Regions from separate parts of the Homo sapiens genome. Here all the other regions are linked to region 2. The links are contacts of gene promoters, found by promoter capture Hi-C in human tissues and cell types (Jung and others, 2019). All regions are on one chromosome and are shown on one strand. The core of a region is centred on a gene start or on the middle of the fragment in contact, and the rest is flanking DNA. Distances in the headings are between cores, read along the strand shown. Region 1 overlaps ANXA3 (annexin A3). Region 2 holds the start of FRAS1 (Fraser extracellular matrix complex subunit 1). Region 3 overlaps BMP2K (BMP2 inducible kinase). Region 4 overlaps LINC01094 (long intergenic non-protein coding RNA 1094).

Region 1 (5,089 bases), core at 1,363-3,862, 540 kb before region 2:
AGAAGAAAGTTTTCCCTTTCTTAGCCTCCTCGGCTTATCTTTTAGCAATTCAGAGTCAACAATGAGCTGAGATTGTGCCACTGCACTCTAGTCTGGGTGACAGAGTGAGACTCCATCTCAAAAGAAAAAAAAAAAAGAAAGAAAGAAAAGAAAAGCCACTGATATCTTTCATAAATAACCAAATATGGTGGATTACCAAACTGGCTTAGGTCTTAGTTGCATGTGTGTGTGTGTGTGTGTGTGTGTGTGGTTTTTTTAATTAAAGAGACAAGATCTTGCTATGTTGCCCAAACTGGCCTTGAACTCCTTGGCTCCAGCAATCCTTCCACCTCAGCCTCCCAAGTAGGTAAGACTACACGTGCATGCCACTGTGCTTTGCCTACGTCTCAGTTTTCAACAAAGCTCAATAAAAATGCCAGTAGAAATAAAATATTTCAGCTCTCAAGAAGTCTACAAGCTAAACATGGTCACAAGACAAATACAAATTTAAAAAGCAAGGTAAGATTTAAAAAGATGGCTGGATGTGGTAGCTCACACCTGTAATCCCAACACTTTGGGAGGCTGAGGTGGATGGATTGCTTGAGCTCAGGAGTTCACGACCAGCCTGGGCAACATGGTGAAACCCCATCTCTACAAAAAATACAAAATTAGCTGGGCCAGGTGGTATACATGCTTGTTGTCTCAGCTACTTGGGAGGCTGAGGTGGGAGGACTGCTTGAGCCCAGGAGGTTGAGGCTGCAGTGAGCTGAGATCACACCACTGCACTCCAGCCTGGGTGACAGAGTGAGATCCTGTTTCAAAAAAGAAAAAGAAAAAAGACTTAAAAAAATAACTTCTTCAAGCATTCATTTAACAATATTTGTTGAGCGTACTGTGTGTATCCTGGACCATGTTGGGGGCTGTAGGGAGCAAAAAAAATGGATCAGTCAGGATTCTTGCCCAAAAGGAGCAGGCCTCGGCACTGAGTTAAAGCAAGTGCAAAGTAACTTAGTTTACCAGCACTCGAAGTCTTACCTATGGCCAACAGTAAGTCTTCAAAATGCCCAGATAATTCTCCTTTTATGCTGTCCACAATGTCCTTTTGGCTGATATTTCTGTATTCATCAAATGCTAAAAAGAAGCACCACAAAATTATTTAAAGCAACGCAGTTGAGCACATTTGAATATATTCTAGTTTTTTATTTGATATGCAGAAGATCAAGTAGCAAGCTAAAAAACTCCCTCTTTAAACCATGAAAATCTGGGCACAGAAGTTTTTGTTTTTCTTTTGTTCCTTTTTAAGGAAATCATCTACAACAAAACCCAAACTCCCTAGATGATTTTCTTCAATGATCTCTCTTTCTCTTTCCCCTTCTCTCAAGCAGTAAGCATTTTAAATAGCCTAAATAGTTAAATAATAAATAATTTATCCAGTAAGTTGGGCTATTTTAAATTTTATTTATAGCAGCACCTGGGAAATGATACTATAATCACTAGTCAAATATGTTTTCTCTGGTAAAGAAATCTTAATTCTGAAGACTTCCTTGTGCTGAATCATTTCCTAAGGTGGCATGGCCTACTTCACACCTCCCAGAAGGCATTTGAATTTCTTGATCAGTATTTGCCCCAAGCAAAACCTGTACATATGTCACCAAGTATACAGGCATATTTTGTAAGCCAAGTATATTTTTCCCCAATACATTTTTAAAAAAAGAAATTTTGGAGAGAGACCTAGGGTTATCTGGTTTTTGTTTTTCAAACAAAGACATGAATAAAGCAACTATCACATACTGTTGTCATTATTTTATAAAATAAATGTGATTTTAATGCAAAAGTTAAGAAAGAACAATTTCAGAATTTCAAAGTCACAGTAATATCCTTATGTTTACTCATTGTTCCGTCAACTCAGCATAAGCTTGGTCTTGCTGTGTGGTTGTTCTGTAAACTAGCATCTGGAAGCCACAGTCAGAAGATGTTCACAGTAAATGAAGGTTTAGTTTTCTAGGTGTTGTTGCTTCCAGAACAGTTCTAGGAGATGCCATGAGCAAGAGGGCGGGTGCCCACAATTCCATGTAATAGCTGGTCTGACGATAAGAGTTGATCCATTCTACCACTTACCTTCATATCAGAAATAGCTAAAGGTTAATCAGTATTGATGTGTCAACAGAGACTCACCTGCAGTGTCTGGCTTTTCTGGAAGTGGCTAACTAGGGAGAACTGTTAGGTGGAGTGGAAGCAGTTGGGCTTCTCCATTCCACAGGAACAAGCCCTTCTACTCTCACCCTAGAGGGTGGCCTCTTTTCTTCTCCCTGCCACCTCCCTCCCCCATCTATTACCTGGTACTCACTAGGTAATCTACTCAGCCTCTATGGAAAAACAAAAGTGTAGTGTCAGTACTTCCTTGAGTTACAATACAGCTTTCCCATTTTGTTTCCTGAAGTGTGAATAACTGGAACAGACTTCGCAATTTTAAACTTCGTTTTTCTAGATCTTTGTATACTAAATGCAAAAACATTTGTAAAAACAACATACAACACAAAGGATTGTAATGTGAGTTTGTACTTAGTTTTAATTGAGGAAAGCTCCTTAAACACAGGATCTCAGTGAATTTGTCTTCATCCGTGCCCCATCTGTTCTCACCAGCTTTATAGAGAATCTATTCACAAGAGAATGATATTAGAGACACAATTATTTTCTTTTTGAGAGGTGACATGAGAAGAATCGGAGTTGTATTTCAGAGGTCAGTGCCATCATCTATTATCTAAATCTCTCACTTTCAGAAGACTAGAAATCAAAAATTGGGCTGTCAGGAGCCAAGGAGAATGATAACTACCACTGGGGCAGGCAAAAAGTTAGGGTTCCGATCCCCAAGCTTCAGGCTTCTCTTTCAAACAGGAAAAAAAAAAAAAGAAAAGTCCCTGTTGCTGCTATTTTTCTCCCTTTTCACATAAATGCAAAGGCAGCCACATAGGAGAATAGGTAAAGGAAATGTTTTCCCGCTTTGTTACTGACCTGGGCATCTTGTTTGGCCAGATGCTCATCCACTTTCAGACTTTCATCTCTTCTGCCCTAAACAGGAGGACGAAAACAAGGGCCATCCTTTAAAGATAGAAGATTCTAACACATAGTACTTCAACCAGCAGGGGATCTTAGTGGTTTTTCTTTAAGGCAGGACAGGTTGCACAGAAAAATCATGTACTCAGGGCTCCAGTTCTGGTTCTGCCATTGACTAGTCATGAAATTTTTAGCAAATCACACAATTTTGGGGGCCTCAGTTCCCTCCTCCGAAAATTCATATATATATATATTTAGAGACAGGTTCTCACTCTCTGTTGGCCAGGCCAGAGTGTAGTCCTGCAGTCATAGCTCACTATAACCTTGAACTCCAAGGCTCAAGCCATCTTCCCGCTTCAGCCTCCTGAATAGCTAATATGACTACAGGTGCACACCACCACACACAGCTAATTTAAAAATTTTTTTTAGAGATGGGATCTCGCTATGTTGCCCAGGCTGGTCTCAAACTCCTGGCCTCAAGCTGTCCTCCCACCTCAGCCTCCTGAATCTCTGGGAATACAAGTGTGGGCCACTGTGCCCAACCCAACACAGAGGTCTTATGTGGAAGAAAAGACAAGGTACAAACTGGGAGAACATATTTGTAACATGTATCTGATAAAGAACTTGTATCCAAAATACATAAAGAACTCTTAAAACTCAATATGAAAATAACAACCCAATTTAAAAATGGTTGAAAGATCTCAACAGACATCTCACCAAAGAAGACGCACAGATGGCACATGAAAAGATTCTCAACATTGTATGTCATTAGATAATTACAAATTAAAACAATAAGATGCCACTACACAACCTATTAGAAGGGCTTAAATCCAAAACACTGACAACACCAAATACTGGTGAGAATGTGGAGCAACAGGAACTCTCATTCACTGCTGATATGAAAGCAAAATGGTACAGTCACTTTGGAAGACAGTTCTGCAGTTTTTTAATAAAGCTAAATATCTCTTACTATATAATCAAGCAATTGCACCCCTCGCTATTTAACTAAAGGAGTTGAAAACATGTCCATACAAAAATCTGCACATGAATGTTTACAGAAGTTTTATTTATAATTGCCAAACTTGGAAGCAAAGAAGATGCCTTTCAGCAGGTAAAATAAATATTCTATACAATGGAATACTACTCAGTACTAAAAAGAAATGAGCTATCAAGCCATGAAAAGACATAGAGGAACCTTAAAGGCATATAGCTAAGTGAAAGAAGCCAGCCTGCCTGAAATGGCTACGTACTGTATGATTCCAACTATAGGACATTCTAGAGATGGCAAAACTATAGAGACAGTAAGAAGATCAGTAGTTGGTGGGGAGGAAGGTATGAACTGGCAGAGCACAGAGGATTTTTAGGACAGTGAAACTACTCTATCATACTGTAATGATAGACATATGACATTATACATTTATTAAAATCCATAGAACTATATCACAGAAAGAGTGAACCCTAATGTAAACTATAAACTTCAGTTAATAATAATGTATCAATATTCATTCACCAATTATAATAAATACACATACTAATTAATGCAAGAGTGAGACCTTCTCTCGCTCTAAAAAAAAAAAAAAAAAAAAAAAAAATTAGCTGAATGTGGTGGTGTACACCTGTGGTCCCAGTTACTCAGGAGGCTGAAGTGGGAGGTCTGCTTGGGCCCAGGAGGTCGAGACTACAGTGAGCTAAGATCACACCATAGTTCTCAAGCCTGGGCAACAGAGCCAGATCCTGTCTCAAAATAATAATAATAATAATAATAATAATGGAAAGGAAAGGAGAGAGTAGAATAGGGTCATATGGGAGCTCTCTGTACTTTCTGCTCAATTTTTCCATAAATCTGAAGCTGCTCTAAAAAGTAAAGTTTATTTAAAAAAAAAAAAAACTCAAAGGCGGGGCGCAGTGGCTCACGCCTGTAATCCCAGCACTTTGGGAGGCTGAGGCGGGTGGATTGATTGAGGTCAGGAGTTTGAGACCATCCTAGCCAACATGATGAAACCCTGTCTCTACTAAAATACAAAAATTAGCCGGGTGTGGTGGCGTGTGCCTGTAA
Region 2 (5,258 bases), core at 2,454-4,953:
AAAATGTGAAAATTGGCTGGGCATGGTGGCGCACATCTGTAATCCCAGCTACTCAGGAGGGTGAGACATGAGAATCGCTTGAGGCCAGGGGGCAGAGGCAGCAATGAGCTGAGATTGCACCACTGCACTCTAGCCTGGGTGATAGAGCAAGACTGTGCCTCAAAAAAAAAATAATAAAAATAATAAAATTTAGAACCAGAAAATTGCAATTGACCACTAATAATGCAGCAAATACTGATCTCTTTTTCTTCTATGTTTGATGATTAGCCAAAGTATCTTAGAGCTATCACGTAATGTACCTCATTTAGTAAATGACAGAACTATAGCGCAAAGAGGTTAGATGGTTCATTCAAGGTTAGTGAGCTAATCAGAGGCCAGTCCACCAGTTAAGCTTAATTCAAAATAATATAATTTGGCAATACTGTTCATCTGACCAATTTTTTGAGCACTTAGTGTATACTAGGAGCTGAACTGAAGATATCAGAATTAATAGGAGCCATCCTAACCCCTCAATAAGCACACAGCTAAGTGAGGAAGACCAAACCCATACCAACCACAATTGTTCTCTCTGTGCACTGAGAAGAAAACGACAAATTCTGCCATAAGCTGGTCAGCAAAGGTGTCACAAGGTACATCCCATCAAAAGAAGTATACATGTGAATGTCTCTTTTCTATTTTTAAAAATTATTCTCTAGGCTGATAATAAAAACTTGAGGAGATTTCTAAGATCCTTGAGGTTTCCAACCTTGATCTCAATGCTCTTATTTTTTAAAGAAAAAGAAAACCTTGAGAGGACCAAACCAGAGGTCTCATCAGATGACAAATGTTTTTTTGTCTGTGGGAGTGATATCACTTAATTAAACTAATTAAATGAGATAAAGTATGTAAAGTGCTTAGCAAAGAGCCAGGCAAACAATACCTGCTCAATAAATGGCCATGTTCATTCATTCATTCATTCATTATTAGATAAGCACCATTATGACGTGGGTGGAAACTCAGACATCTATCAATTTATCAATCCAATTTGTGAAACAGCTATAGAATGCTCTGACAGTAAAGTCAAACAATAAGAAGCAAAGTTTCCAAAGACTCTTTGGAGTAATATCCACACCCTCTCTCCGCCCCCGCCCCCGCCCCCCGTCTCTACCCCCAGCTTTCTGTGCTTCACATCCCCCCATCCCCACCTCCCAGTCTAGATTCCGCACTTCTTAAACTTGGCCCACTGGATCAAGCAATCTGCCAAAGAGCGCACCCTGCAGGCTCTTAATAATAATGCCTTTTGTTGATTTCAGAGTTTTGGTTCCGACAAGCTGCACCATTCCAACTGCCCCCTGGTGAGCTATCCGGGAGTGATAGCACGTTTCCTGCGTTGCTGGGATAGGACTCTAAATTTTAAAAACTGCCACCAAGTGAAATTAATTTTTCTAAGTACCAAGTTCAGGTTTGGGTGGCCTGGGGTGACTCTCTCATCTGGTTTATTGTTATAATCAAGCCCTACAAGCTTTTTTTTTTTTTTTCCAAAGTACGCGCCCACACGCACATAAACAATAAAGTTATATTTCTACAGGACTTGCACTGTTGGGAGAAGGCTGCACAGGCCCCAGATGTGCCTTTCGCGGAGATTATACACACTTGACACACATCCCGGAAGAGTGCAGAAGGCAGCACCTGGACCCACGGGAAAGTCCCCCACCCTTGTGCGTGGATTCCCAAGGCCTTTCTCTTGGGAAGCCAGCAAAGAAAAGGCAGCTGCTCCAGTGACTGGAGGTCGACCCGAGGCAGAGCTTTGTCCTCCCCGGGCCTCCCGCAGCCCCCAGTCCTGCGCCAGAGCTCGACTCCCGGGAGCCGCCCCGCGCCCCTTCCTAGGCACCAGGGCGGAGAAGGCGGCCCGCCCTGCGCCCGCCGCCGCCGCCCAGCCGCGGCTCTGGTTTGCGGCTGGGCAGGTGAACTCTTCTTCCCGCAGCTGGATGAATAATGAATGGAGCCGGGAGGGGAAGCCGAGAGCCAGGCGCTGTGGATTAAGCCGTCTTCCTCCCAGCCCGCCGGCTCCCTTCCCCCTCCCTAAGCACTGGCGGGGCGACTTCCCTGGCTCCTCGGAGCAGGAGGGAGCTCACAGCGCCTCGCGTCCCCAGGCCCGGCATCCCATGACCCCAAACTCTTGATTTACTTATTGACTCATTTATTTGGCTGAGCCCGGATTGCATTTGATATCATGGCGACAACTAGTCTCACGGCTTCCTTTTCTCTCCTGCGGCTCCGGGGTTTTACAGGTAGCTTGGAGCCTCGGAGGAAAACCAGGAGGCGGAGGGTGAAGTAAAAGAATGAACCTAAACTCTTATTAACCACTTTTGTTCTGGGAAGCAGGCTGGTTCGTGCTTCTCCGTACTGGAGAGATTTCTTTCAGTGCAACTGAACTGCCCACGACCAGAACACGCTCCAACCAGTTAGTTATAAAATCCTAACTGGACTTTAGGGGGAGACTAACTGAGGTAAGGAGGGCGGGAGAGCGATGGGGCTTTAAGATGAAAGACTGTATGTTTCTTAGGAACAGAAGTATTTTTAAACAGGTAAGAGCAATTGTTCGCTCCTCACCTGTGCTCCATGCAGTTGCTTTCCCTTCGGGGAAAGGTAGGTGGTGGAAAGAAAAAGGATCAGTTTCAGAGATGTCACCTCCATCGGCCACCCACCCACCCAAAAGCACTTAGGGCAGAGAGGGAGGCCGTTTCGGGGGTGTAATCCGAATACAAAACAATCAGGAGTAGGAATCTTATCAGAAAAAGCCTATTCCAGTTTCACTTCCACCTCACCCTTCCCAGAAAAACTTCCACCTCACCGAAATACCATAAAACCTGCTGAGATTTTTAAACTGCACGATCACTCACACATACACACACACACGCACACGCACACACACACACACACGCGGCACCGCTCTCTCACCTTCGGAATGATGAGGCAATACTGCAAATTCCGCCAACGCTAGGGCCAGCCCGAGCCACACTTTGAGGACACCCATCGCCGCCTCGGCACCCACGATGGAGGAGCCCAGCCTTCAGCATCCAAGAAGCGGCTCCGCCAAAACGCTGGCTCCGGCGCTTGGAACCCGGGCGCACTGAAGGTGGGGGACCGCGGGCCTTTACCTCCGGGAAAAAGAGATGGACGGGCGGAGAGCGACACTCATCAGCCCGGAGGCGCCGGAGCGGGCTGGGGTTCAATTCACTCGCTGCTCAGGCAGAGAGCGCGCCGAGTTCCCCCGCAAGGCAGGACGCCAACGTGAGCTTTGGGAGAATAAGAGGAGGCAGAGCACAGTTCTCCGCGTCAAAATCTCGCCGGAAAGTTGCTGGTCACTGGCCGATGGGATCTTCCAGCATTTCCCTCGGGCTAGACCCTTCCGATCCCGGGTCCCCGACAGTGGAAATCCTGGCTCTGGTTTGTCCGAAGCAGCTTTTTAAAGTTCGCTTGGCACCATACGTCGGCGTTGCGTCGGCACCGCGGGTCGCCGGGAGCCCCGAAAGACCCACCCACACCCACTCCTTGGTCGAGCCACCCGGCTCGGCAGACCTCATCTGCCGGGGTCCGCTCGCTGGAAACTGTGCAGCGCTGAGGGCAGCTCCGGGGACTCGCCCGCCCTGCAGCCGCACCGCACCACACCGCCTCAGGCTGCGCTCCCTGAAGCAGACTGTTCGGAAGCTTCAGAGGAAAGACTGGGGGGCGCTGCTGCTACTTTCTCGTCCCCGCCCCTCGCCTGGGTGAGGAGGGCTGCGGGGACGCGGCTTGCTGCACACCAACACCCACCTCCGCGCTGAACACCCCGGAGGAGGTCTGCAGGGTAGAGGTGCAATGATTACGGGAGTGGAAGAAGAGCCATAATTTTAATTGCACGGAGGAAAAAGCTAGCGAGGCTGGAAAAGACCCCCAAACTCAAGGCCACTCTGGCGAGAGAGCCTGGAAACGCCCAAAATACGCCGGGTCTGGACCCCGTGTTTAAAGGACACACGTTCAGCCTTCCTCTAGTCTCCCTTGCCTCCTTCCTCTCTGCTTTGCTCGGTGTGAAAATGGACCCAGAGACTCGGAGCTTTGGCGAAATTCCAGAGAGTCACGTGGGGAAAGGGAGAAGCGAGGAGGGAGGTGAGGGGAGGCCGGGAGAGCAACCTGATCCCTTTATTCATTCTGCTGGAGTTCAGATTGGCTTTGTCTGGGGAGGAATCAAAAGTGCTCATACCGGGGACGGAGGGGGTGGAGATAGGTTGCACAGTTCTTGCTCAGGCACACCGGAAGGCAGATGAACCGTGTCCACATCCCTTGTTAGGGGAGGAACCGATTCGGCGGGCTGGGGGAGCGTGTGCCCACATCAAAGGCCCTGGGGCTACCTCCCACCCCCACAGCCCGCCACTCCTGCTGAACTAAGTGCGTCCGGGGGACCTGATTGATCCTTCTTCCTCGCTCTGGGACCCTCAGGCTGTTGCATCCTGGCTTTTACCAGCAGCCCGGGAAGATCTTGGTGTGTGTGTCCTAGGCGGAGCCTGAGAGCAAATGCACCTTTCCCTTTCCCTAGGAGACTCTGTCAGTGGAACACAACGCGGTCTGGGAGCTGTGGGTCCAGCTGCGCCCCCAGATGCCAATGGCTGGGAAAGTAACATCAGGACACGGCCGACTGGGGCGCGCACTTGAAGAGCAGAGGCCTTGATTCCCCGCCAGGACTGACTGACGGCAGCTATTTTTATAGGACCGAATAAAAATAGCTGGTCCACGTTTAATCGTTTTATAAGGGAACAGTTGCATCAGAGAGATGCTGACTGGGTTCTGATTGGCCCAGAGAAGAAACGTCTCGGGTCCCTCAATTGAGTCGGGATGGGCGAAACTGTTGGAGGGGAAGCAGTTGCATGAGCTGTGCTGGCGGGGGTCCCACTTGTTTCCAGTCTTCACGAACACCATGACGCGGGCCCACGTTCTAACGTGCACTGACGCCACTTGGAACAATTCACTTTTCCGAATAACTGGAATAACTTGAAACTGGCAGGTCCCTGTCAGTGTTACTATTCAGCCAGAACAAAGGAGAACCTCTGACAACCTGGCTCTGAATCTTAAGTATTTGGAGGACCCAGGGTTTGCACATTTCGCCCTCAGTCTCTCTGTTGGGCTGTGGTCATTCTAGGGACAGAGGTTGTATCATCTTTGTATAATTGAAGCACATAGTAGGTGCTCTTTAAACATTTGTTGAAATAATGGATTAAGTGCCTGAGAGCAGCGGCCATATC
Region 3 (4,889 bases), core at 644-3,143, 800 kb before region 2:
ACTGGGTTTCACATGTAATCCTTATAATTACTATCCTTGTTTTACAGAAAAAGAAATGGACATTAAAGTAACTTACCAAAAGATTCAAAGTCAGTCACTGATAAGGACAAAACTGAATCTGGGTCTATTTACATTGCCTGTGCTTTTTAAAAAAAAACTTTTTTGTAGTTTTAGGGGATACAAGTGCAGCTTTGTTATAAGGATATACTGCATAATGGTGAAGTCTGGGCTTTTAGTATGACCATCACCCAAATAGTGTATATTGTACCCATTAGGTAACTTCTCATCCTTCATCCGCTTCCCACCTTTCTGACTTCCAATGTCTATTACTCCACTGTCTATATCTATGCGTACACATTGTTTAGTTCCCACTTAACAAGGCCTGTGCTCTTTATACCAAAGTTTCCCAAACTTACTCAGTTAACAGTGCTCCGTGTCTCAGTAATTGTTTACAACACTTCTAAGAAAAAAAAAAAAAAACTAACAGTCCTGTTTATTAAACTGTTAGGCCCAAATAACTTAATAAAATTAGTTTTGTGCTAAGTCAGAAAGATGTCCCTGTGTTTTCCTCAAAAATGCAAAATATTCTGCCTGAGTCTGCTGCAGCTCCCCAAGGTATCTCAGTGCATAGTTTGGGTACTGAAGCTTTATACCACAAATATCAAACACACAATCAGATCACTTGTCATGAAACAAGAAACTCTGAGTTTTAGCAACAGCAACAAAAAAAAAGTAACTCTGAAAGTAAATATATTCACATACGATAAAATGAATTTTAAATTCATATCCTACTTGAAAATCTACTTACATTGATGTTGGAGACTGGACAATCCTTTTTGGCAAATTTAAATGCAAAATATGACACTTGAAATATATCAGGTCTATGTTCCGGATCTGGTTCAAGCATGAACCCTGCAAGAATAGATCAAAATGTTAAGAAGTTTTATGAAACACACATTATACTACTTAGGGGCACATTATAAGGATAAAAAATATGTATTTTCTGTTCCACTCTAAGATCAGTGATGATTCTAGCAAACTTTATTAATGCCTACAGAAAATGCAGAAATTGCTATTTTATAAATAAAGCATTATCCCAAGCTAAGGGTAGATCAATCACAGAACAGCTCTACACTAGAAGTATGAATGACAAACTTGATTATTCTATTGAAAAAGTGACACAAAAGAAAAAGTGAGTTTAGTGAACACTGGGGAATTATTCAAGAAAGTTCCAAGGCCATAGTAAAAAGGTCCTTCAAGATAATTCTATTCAAAATAATTATTACTATTATCCAAAATACCTGTATTAATTTTTAAGTGATCCTTAATCATTAAGAAAAGCCTAAATTGTATATGTTATAATCTAACAAAGTAGTAATGGATTGGCACTGTCGTTTTCCAAAAACATACTCTCTTCCCATATTGATGCTAACAACATTCACCATAGTTCTGTATCTTAACATGTTATCCATATCATGCTCAGAAATATGGGCAGAGTTTTCTGGTTTTTATGAACAGATTTCAAAACAACCTTACAGCATTGCTTGAAATGCCTGATCTTTTTTCTACCAAAATGACCACTACCATTTGGTAGTACTCCACTTCTTGGATAATTTTTAATTCTAAATTTCACAAGGTTGACATTTATACTCAATTCCGTAAGTAAAAGATTTTGTTAAGACATCTCAAAGTCTACCTCTGCTTCATTAACTCTAAGTTGTTATAATGTTTAAATCCTTTTTAAACTACTTAAAATGTAAAATTTAAAGAATTAGATATTCTTAAGTTTGCTAATAAAATAATGTATAGAGAGATCTAAGTATGTAAATGGGTTAAATAAAATTATAAATCAAAATGAATTAAATCTTCCCTTCAAATTTAAGTAATATTTTGAATACAGAATGTGTGATACATCTTCAATGACATGATAAACTTATTTTGGCTAAAAACACAGTTATGTGGAAAGTTATAATTTATTTGAGAGATTCTGAGCTCAGTGTAAAATATACGAAAACTCTGCATGTAACTTGATTTTATATATTTATAATGCTAACATATATCACTTATAAAATGGATGTTTTTTATAATTTTTACCACCATTGCTAGACTGAAATAACTAAAAACATTTTAATTCTAATATTTGCTAGTTTATATTCAAACTCAATCCAAAAAAGATTTGAGGAATCTACAAAATTTATTTTATCTTGATACCAACAGATATTAAATGTTTTTAACGTAACAACAGTACACAAAATGGGGATAAATTTAAACATACTGTTAACAATAACTACTTATTCATATAATTTTAAAAACCAAACAAATCACACGAAACCTACCTAATTCACAAACGTATAGTCCTATTTTTCTATTCTAACAAATTTATTTGGCTTTTAAAATCTAATTTCAACAATAGCTAATTATACATATTTAGTCCTATAAAGAACTTGAAGTGGCACACAAAACTAAGATTTTTTTTAAATATATAAGAAAATTAAAACTAATGGAAAAATAGTGGCTTGGGGGTTGAGATGGACAGGATAATGAGGTCAGTTACAAACTACATATGATTTGGTCTTAAATGCAGGCCCAAAATTTGCTCTCCATTTTTTAGCTGTCAATATAAACAGGGCAACATGATCCATTACATGAATCACAGTGTATCTAATACAAAAACAAATCAGGTGCTAAGGAAAAACACTATTCGTGATACTGAAAGCTAGAGAGCAAATTCTCCGTTGAGTCTTTCTAAAGATAGCTCACACAAAGTGAACAACATCCTTAAGGAATAGCAGTGAGTGACACAGGGTCATGTTTTAAACACGCTATCAGTATGGACTAGTGGCCTAAATGCCATGCAGTAAAAGAAAGGGGTATGGTTTAAGAATGTACTTCTTTTGCGGCCTGGTTTAATCCAAGAAAAACTTTTTAAGTATTCAGAGAGGAATTAAATGATAGTTCAGGCATTCCTTGTTTTTCTTTGTTTTGTTTTCTTTCATAGCAATTGAAAAGCACTGAGAGAGAAAAAAATAAATTTGAGATTTTGTGTCCTAACCTATATGGGTATAGGTATTTCTGTATCTCAGGTTAAGCACAGCATATCCTCTAATGATTAGGTAGCTAGGTTGCAGGTAGAACTGATATTATCTTATAAGCAAACACAAGGACCTCCAATTCCCCTGGGTCATGTTTTCATGTGGGAATATATCTGCTGGAGCCAGTTTAGTCTAACTGTACTGATTCCATTTATGTGACATAAAATCAACTCAAAAGGTCAGAACTACTATTTATTTTAATAAAGAAGAACAGAAAATATTACAGTACATTAATATGGTAAATGTAAGCAATATTTCATGAAATGTGATTCAGTTTACATGTGTGTATTCTGTGTGTGGAGTGTATACCAGGTCATAACTAAAATGTATTTTTTATTAATATATTGAATCACAGTCACAAAAAGTTTGAAGCCACTGTGCTAGTGTAGTGCCACGATCGCTATCTACTACTATAACTCATTCTCCCCAGTGGGAAAGACAGTGATTTGTCAAATTGTTAGACTAGAAAAAAGAATGAAGCACCTCCACCCATCAATCTCTGATGATCTTTCTTTCAGAACAGGTTATTTTAAGAACATACATGTTCTCTGCTAAACCACATTTTGTAAGTAACCTGTCTCTGTGGAAGAAGTCTAAGGTTTTCCAGCATTGACTATGACTGGATGTTAATAAATTTGAGGGTTGGGAACAGAGGAACAGGCTCCTTCGGCTTTAGATCTAAATTTCATTCTGCAATCTGCTTTACCAGTACTAAAAAGTTGACAGTTTTATCTGATGAGCTCCAGTGGACCATCTCTGACTTGGTTCTAAATTCAAAGTATGAAAAGATGAATAATCATACCTAAAACCCACAGGTAGAACTTGGCTACATTTTTATCTCTGAATATTTCTAAATTGAATATTATCAGCAATTTAAAAAAAAGGAAAAAAAATCAATAAGGCATCTTTAAGCACTTAAGTTAAATAATATAATTTACTGAACTCTTCAAGAGAATGGGTTGCAAAATGTACCACTGGATTACTGAAGGATGTAATCTAGAGTGCGCAGAGGTATCACATTTAATACAGCTAAACACTGATTCAAGGACATTTCAGCCAGGCATGGTGACTCTTGCCTGTAATCCCAGCTACTTAGGAGGCTGGGGTGAGAGGATGGCTTGGGCTTAGGAGTTCAAGACTGCAGTGAGCTATGATCTCACCATTGCAATCCAGCATAGGCAACAGAAAGACCCTGTCTCTTTAAAAAAAGAAAGAAAGAAAGAATTTGACCCTTCAATTTTTATAGTTTTTCTAAAGCCATTTTCTCCTGCAAATAATTAAACCTCGAGTTCAGTGTTTTATTAATTGCTACTTCATGACAATAAAACCATATCATCTATTAACAAAATACGCTTTTGGGGAAAAGAAATGGATTAAGGAATGTATGTGTCCAGTTCACCTAAAAGTAGTATTACGTGATCAGGTTTAAAAACAAAACAAAAAAGGCAGAGAAACTAGAATACGCCCTTGTTTACTCAACTTAAAATGATCACCTGAATCATCACAAGACCATTACCACTGAATCTGATTCTACTATAAATATAAAATCAACTTTTTAAAACTTAGCCACGAAGAAATAATATTTCTCTGCTCACTCAATAGTGTAAATCTTTCTATTGACACAAATACTACTAACACAACCTAAGAACACAAAATAGAGCTTCAGCACTGAAGGTAGTATAAGACTAAAACTACAACAATATTTCTTATTGATGTACACACTGGTCTGAGGCAACTGATTTAATTATGCCTATACCAATATTGCATAGAAAAGCACAAAATCCCTGCACATTCCAA
Region 4 (4,778 bases), core at 1,244-3,743, 610 kb before region 2:
ACCTTCTAATATATCTTATAAAAGAGAAAATAGGGTTTGTAAATTAGCAACCAGCCTGTATTGTATTGAATATAGGCTTAAAAGTCTAATATGTATGTGCATATGTATGCATGTGTGTGTGTGTGTGTGCATGTGTGTGCGTATCAATTAGAGGGTGGGGAAAAACATTTATAGAACTCAGTACCATTAACAAAAACATTAAAATTCATTGGCATTCAAAATTCATGAAGGCCCTAGTCAATTTTTGGCTGTTATAGCAGAATACCAGAGATGGGTAATTTATTAAAAAAAGAAATTTATTCTGTTCATGGTTCTGAACGCCAGGAAGGCTGAGAGCATAGTACTGGCATCTGGCAGGAGTCATTCCATGGCAAAAGGATGGATGGCAGAAAGGGGCAGATGAAGCAGAAAGAAAAAGGGGGCCAGGCTCACCACAATTAACCCATTCCCATGATAACAACATTAGTCCATTCATGAGGACAAAGCCCTCATGACCTAATCACTTCTTAAAGGCCCCACCTCTTAATATTGTTACAATGGCAATTAAGTTTCCAACACATGAACTTTGGGAGACATGTTCTAACCATGGGGATGACTGACTTCTTAGGCAAGAGTTTCTTACTTTAAAAAAATGCATAATAATAATATTTTGTGTTTACACAATGCTTTCCAGTTTATACAGGGCTTTTCTAGATATCATGTGACTTTCAAACATGCTATGGACTTTATATGTGAGGCCTTCACATGGTACAGGCTGTAAAAGTGGTTCTAGCTGATAACAAGTAGTTATCAACAAGAAAGCTAACACATTTTTACCACAATCCATGTTATAAAAATGATTCTTATAGACAATCTGCCATTCCCAGCTCTTAAAGAAGTAGCATAGCTGCCAAATGAATAACCAAATAGATATATTTAATGGGCTCTAAAAAGTCAAACATAAAACCAATTAATGAATTGGCTCTGGGACTCAAATAGCTTTTGCAGGAAACATCTTTACTTTCAGAAATAATTATAATGGTGTTTCTTAAACACTTTTGCCATTTCAGAAAGATCCCCTGAAATTACTAGGAACACATCAGGTGTCAGCATTCATATATTCTCACTCACTCTTCATTTTTTTAGGGGAAACAATGTATCCAAATTGACACAGACAGAACTTCTTTTAGTTGGTGTTGGCTGTCATTTTATTCAGGTTTAAGTATGAGTCTAATTACCCTCAAAGGACTTTTTGACAAGTTTATCACACGACCACCAGAATTTCTGCTGTGGGTGAAGGAAGTGTTTTTGGTGGTCACAACAACTATCCATGACATCAATTTAGTGAGTACAGACAAACACTTTTTAAAAATGAAATAGAACAGAATATGTAATATCAGAATGTGTCACTGGTAGTAAAGGTAAGTGTGTTTCATAGAACTTTTCCTGCAGTGTTGTGTTAGTCCCTTCTTGCATTGCTACTCTAAACCCCGAAAATCTGAGACAGGTCTCAGTTAATTTAGAAAGTTTATTTTGCCAAGGTTGAAGATGAGCCTGCGGCACAGCCTCAGGGAGTCCTGATGACATGTGGCCAAGGTGGCTGGGGCACAGCTGAGTTTTATACATTTTAGGGAGACATGAAGCATCAATCAGTATATGTAAGAAGTACATTGGTTGGGTCTGGAAAGGCGCGACAACTTGAAGCAAAGGCAGGAAGCCTTGAAGCCGAAGCAGAGAGGGGGCTTCCAGGTCACAGATAGGCGAGAGACAAATGAATGGTTTCATTCTTTTGAGTTTCTGATTAGCCTTTCCAAAGGAGGCAATCAGATATACATCTATCTCAGTGAGCAGAGGGATGACTTTGAATAGAATGGGAGGCAGGTTTGCTCTAAGCAGTTCCCAGCTTGACTTTTCCATTTAGCTTAGTGATTTGGGGGCCCCAAGGTTTATTTTCCTTTCACATTATAAAGAAATACCTGAGACTGGATAATTCATAAAGAAAAGAGGTTCACAGCTCTGCAGGCTTTGCAGGAAGCAATGATGCTAGCATCAGCTTGACTTCTGGGAAGTCCTCAGGAAGCTTATGATCATGGCAGAAGGCAAAAGGAAAGCAGGAAAGCAGGCATGTCACATAGTCAGAGCAGAAGCAAGGAGAGGGGGAAGGTGCCACACACTTTCAAATGACCAGATGTCTAGAGAACTCACTATTGTGAAGACAGCACCAAGCCATGAGGGATCCAAACACCCTCCCACCAAGCCCCACCTCTAGCACTGGGGATTACAATTCAACATAAGAGTTGGGCAGGGACAAATATCCAGACTATATCAAGTGCCTATGTGTATATTCTGTGTATACTGAGTGAGGATACTTAATGTGGGTTATGGTTTTAAAAAGCTTTGGAAACCACCATGTTAAGGCATTATCACCAAAGGAATTTTAGTGAAAATATAGTTTTTGGGTGGATGTTTCAGAGCACACAAGACTTTTTGTTATATGGAGTGGGGCACAGTGGAGAGAATTGCTGAGGGGTGAGGGATGTTGATGTCGAAAGTACAAAGGAGGGCAAATGAGCAAAACTCCACCTAATCCAGTTATACCTAGTGGTGGTCCTAGTCTTTGGTCATGGCTATGGCTAATAAGATTTAAGATATACCTGTGGGTAGCACTGGCAGAAAGAAAGGCAAAAGGGAGAGGGACAGAGAGAAGAGGAAAAGAAAGCAAGAGGGAAAGGTCAGAGTGTTGACAGTGTGAGTTGGAACAAAGATTGGGATTTATGTGTGAAAAAGAGGAAAAGGAGAGATAAGAGCAAAACTAAGAGACGTGCAAGATGAGGATTGGCAGATAGAATAACTTTCAGCTTTCAGCTGCCAGTAACGTAAGCTCAACTACAATGGCTCAAACAATAAATAAATGTATTGATTGGTTCACTGGCTTGGTTATGTCACAAGGATCCACAGTGTTGTCCTCAGTTGCTCTCCCCTTGTGAATATATGATGGCTATAGGATGGCTAAAGCAGGGCTGTGGGTCTGGGATGACTGGAAGAGCAACTGGGATTATGTGCTTCCTTATCCCATTCAAGGAGCAAAAGGCTGGATTCCTGTGGATCTCTGAATGACAAGGGATAATTTTCCAGAATACCCAGCACTCTTCTGCATACATCTCATTGGCCAGACTTGAATCACATACCCATTTCTGAATCTATTACTGACAGATGGATGGCATTACTTAGACCATTCGGATGCCTTTCTGGAGCTGGCATCAATCTTTCCCAGGCACATGACTAGAAGAGAGGAAAGCAAAATTGAGGTTCATTAGGAACACAGGAGATGATTTTTTGCTGAGTAGGCAATCAACAAAGTTCACTGCACACAAGAATTTTTAAAAACTTTGGTAATATATCCTAGTGGCTATAGTAGATTTGATATGGAAAATTTCCATCACTAAAACAGTTTCATTTTTAGAGTCCTATTATGTCATGTTCCTTCTCATAGAAGAATACCTTTGAAGGTATTTAAATAAACTTAAAGAAATCAAGTACAGAGAGTTTCTATTTTCTGTATATTTTACCACCAAAAGAAATCTCAATTTCTACCCCAAAATAATATGCTGTATTCACTCCCTAGAGACAATGCACAATGATTGACCTCCGTTGGAACACACATCATAATACAGAAGCACTAGCCATTGTGTAGAGCTTTACTTCTCTGCCTGATTCCCTCCCCCACTCAGAAGTTATACTTCAGCATTATCCTCCTATGTCCTAGCCAACTTTCTGCATCATGACACAAAGACACTGATGGTTAGGATCATTCTAGCCCGAAGATAGCAAGGGCAAAGCCAGCCAGGCTTAGATGAAACTCACACTGTTTGCTGAATGGCCACGGTGTTTTGAGGTTTCTCTTTATGAAAGGCTAGCATAAAGTCAACAGCCCACAGTTGCTCAAATCTGTGCTTTAGTTTCATTGCCACCACCAAACACTTCTCCACCCAGGAGAATTACAGCTAAGTGTTGTTTTAACTACATCCCCAGGGGAGTATTGAGTAAGACAAAAAGCATGCTAGGTCAACAACAGATCTTTTCTGTAAAAAGGAACATTTCAGGAAAATTAAACAAAGTGTAGAAAAGCCTTAGCTTGCAATCTGTTGTTGCAAAGTTCAAACAATGGCTTTCCTCCCTACTTAGGCAAACACCAAGCAGGAAGCTCTGAACAGAAAAAAAAAAAAAAAAAGACCGTCCAGAGCCATAGAAGAGAATAGCTCATGATGACAGTCATTGTTACTTCATTCCTATTTAGACACAATTAAGGCCATTAGTTCTTTAATTCCGATTCATCTGATTATTTTCAGAAGTTCTAGAGTGAGGACCTTACAATCCTAGAAATCCTACCTGATGAACTCTTAAAAATTGAAGCATAGCTTTTCAGTTATTTCAAAGCTCAGCTAAATCCCCAAATAGTTTGACTCGCCTTCCCTTGTTCCCTGGCAACAATGTGCAGGTAAATTGCTCTACCTGGGATCTCTACTGATGGTAGGGCCTATGGGAAAACAAGATTCATAGCTTGCTCACTGGTGTTTGCAAATATCTTCTGGAGTTTGAAAACTATACTTTTCCTATGTGGACCTTGTGATTTTCTGTTTGGAAAATTTTGTTATTGTCCTCCTCCTTTTCTTTTCCTCTGCTGCATAATTTCAACATTCAGTTTTCCGTTAATCGATGTCATAGTGCCATCCCACAACAATGTCGGCTGAGCTCACTGCTGGCTGCCTTCATAGTGACCAGCTGAAAATATTATAGGA

Evidence for each region. The method cuts DNA at HindIII sites, captures the fragments that hold promoters and counts their contacts. A contact is called where the count stands out against the background at its distance.
Region 1: a contact is called between a fragment that was not itself captured here and the fragment with the promoter of FRAS1 in region 2, in 1 of the 25 tissues and cell types used here (heart left ventricle).
Region 3: a fragment that was not itself captured here is called in contact with the fragment with the promoter of FRAS1 in region 2 in 1 of the 25 tissues and cell types used here (dorsolateral prefrontal cortex).
Region 4: a fragment that was not itself captured here is called in contact with the fragment with the promoter of FRAS1 in region 2 in 1 of the 25 tissues and cell types used here (H1 embryonic stem cells).

Annotation. Positions count from the first base shown.
Region 1 is chr4:78,593,340-78,598,428 of GRCh38, reverse strand. ANXA3 (annexin A3) reads right to left here. Exons shown (of 13, transcript NM_005139.3): 8 at 2,992-3,048; 9 at 2,542-2,635; 10 at 1,015-1,110. Among named protein-coding and RNA genes, the nearest start is that of ANXA3, 44 kb to the right of the region's middle. The HindIII fragment of the contact is 5,153 bases long and covers 36-5,089 here.
Region 2 is chr4:78,055,768-78,061,025 of GRCh38, reverse strand. It overlaps FRAS1 (Fraser extracellular matrix complex subunit 1), which reads right to left and starts at 3,703. Exons shown (of 74, transcript NM_025074.7): 1 at 2,941-3,703. The coding sequence starts at 3,016. RefSeq lists an enhancer at 4,146-5,117. The HindIII fragment of the contact is 7,312 bases long and covers 947-5,258 here.
Region 3 is chr4:78,855,607-78,860,495 of GRCh38, reverse strand. It overlaps BMP2K (BMP2 inducible kinase), which reads right to left. Exons shown (of 16, transcript NM_198892.2): 8 at 809-912. Among named protein-coding and RNA genes, the nearest start is that of PAQR3, 81 kb to the left of the region's middle. The HindIII fragment of the contact is 3,192 bases long and covers 298-3,489 here.
Region 4 is chr4:78,661,401-78,666,178 of GRCh38, reverse strand. It overlaps LINC01094 (long intergenic non-protein coding RNA 1094), which reads right to left. Exons shown (of 3, transcript NR_038308.1): 2 at 3,207-3,261. Among named protein-coding and RNA genes, the nearest start is that of LINC01094, 18 kb to the right of the region's middle. The HindIII fragment of the contact is 3,718 bases long and covers 635-4,352 here.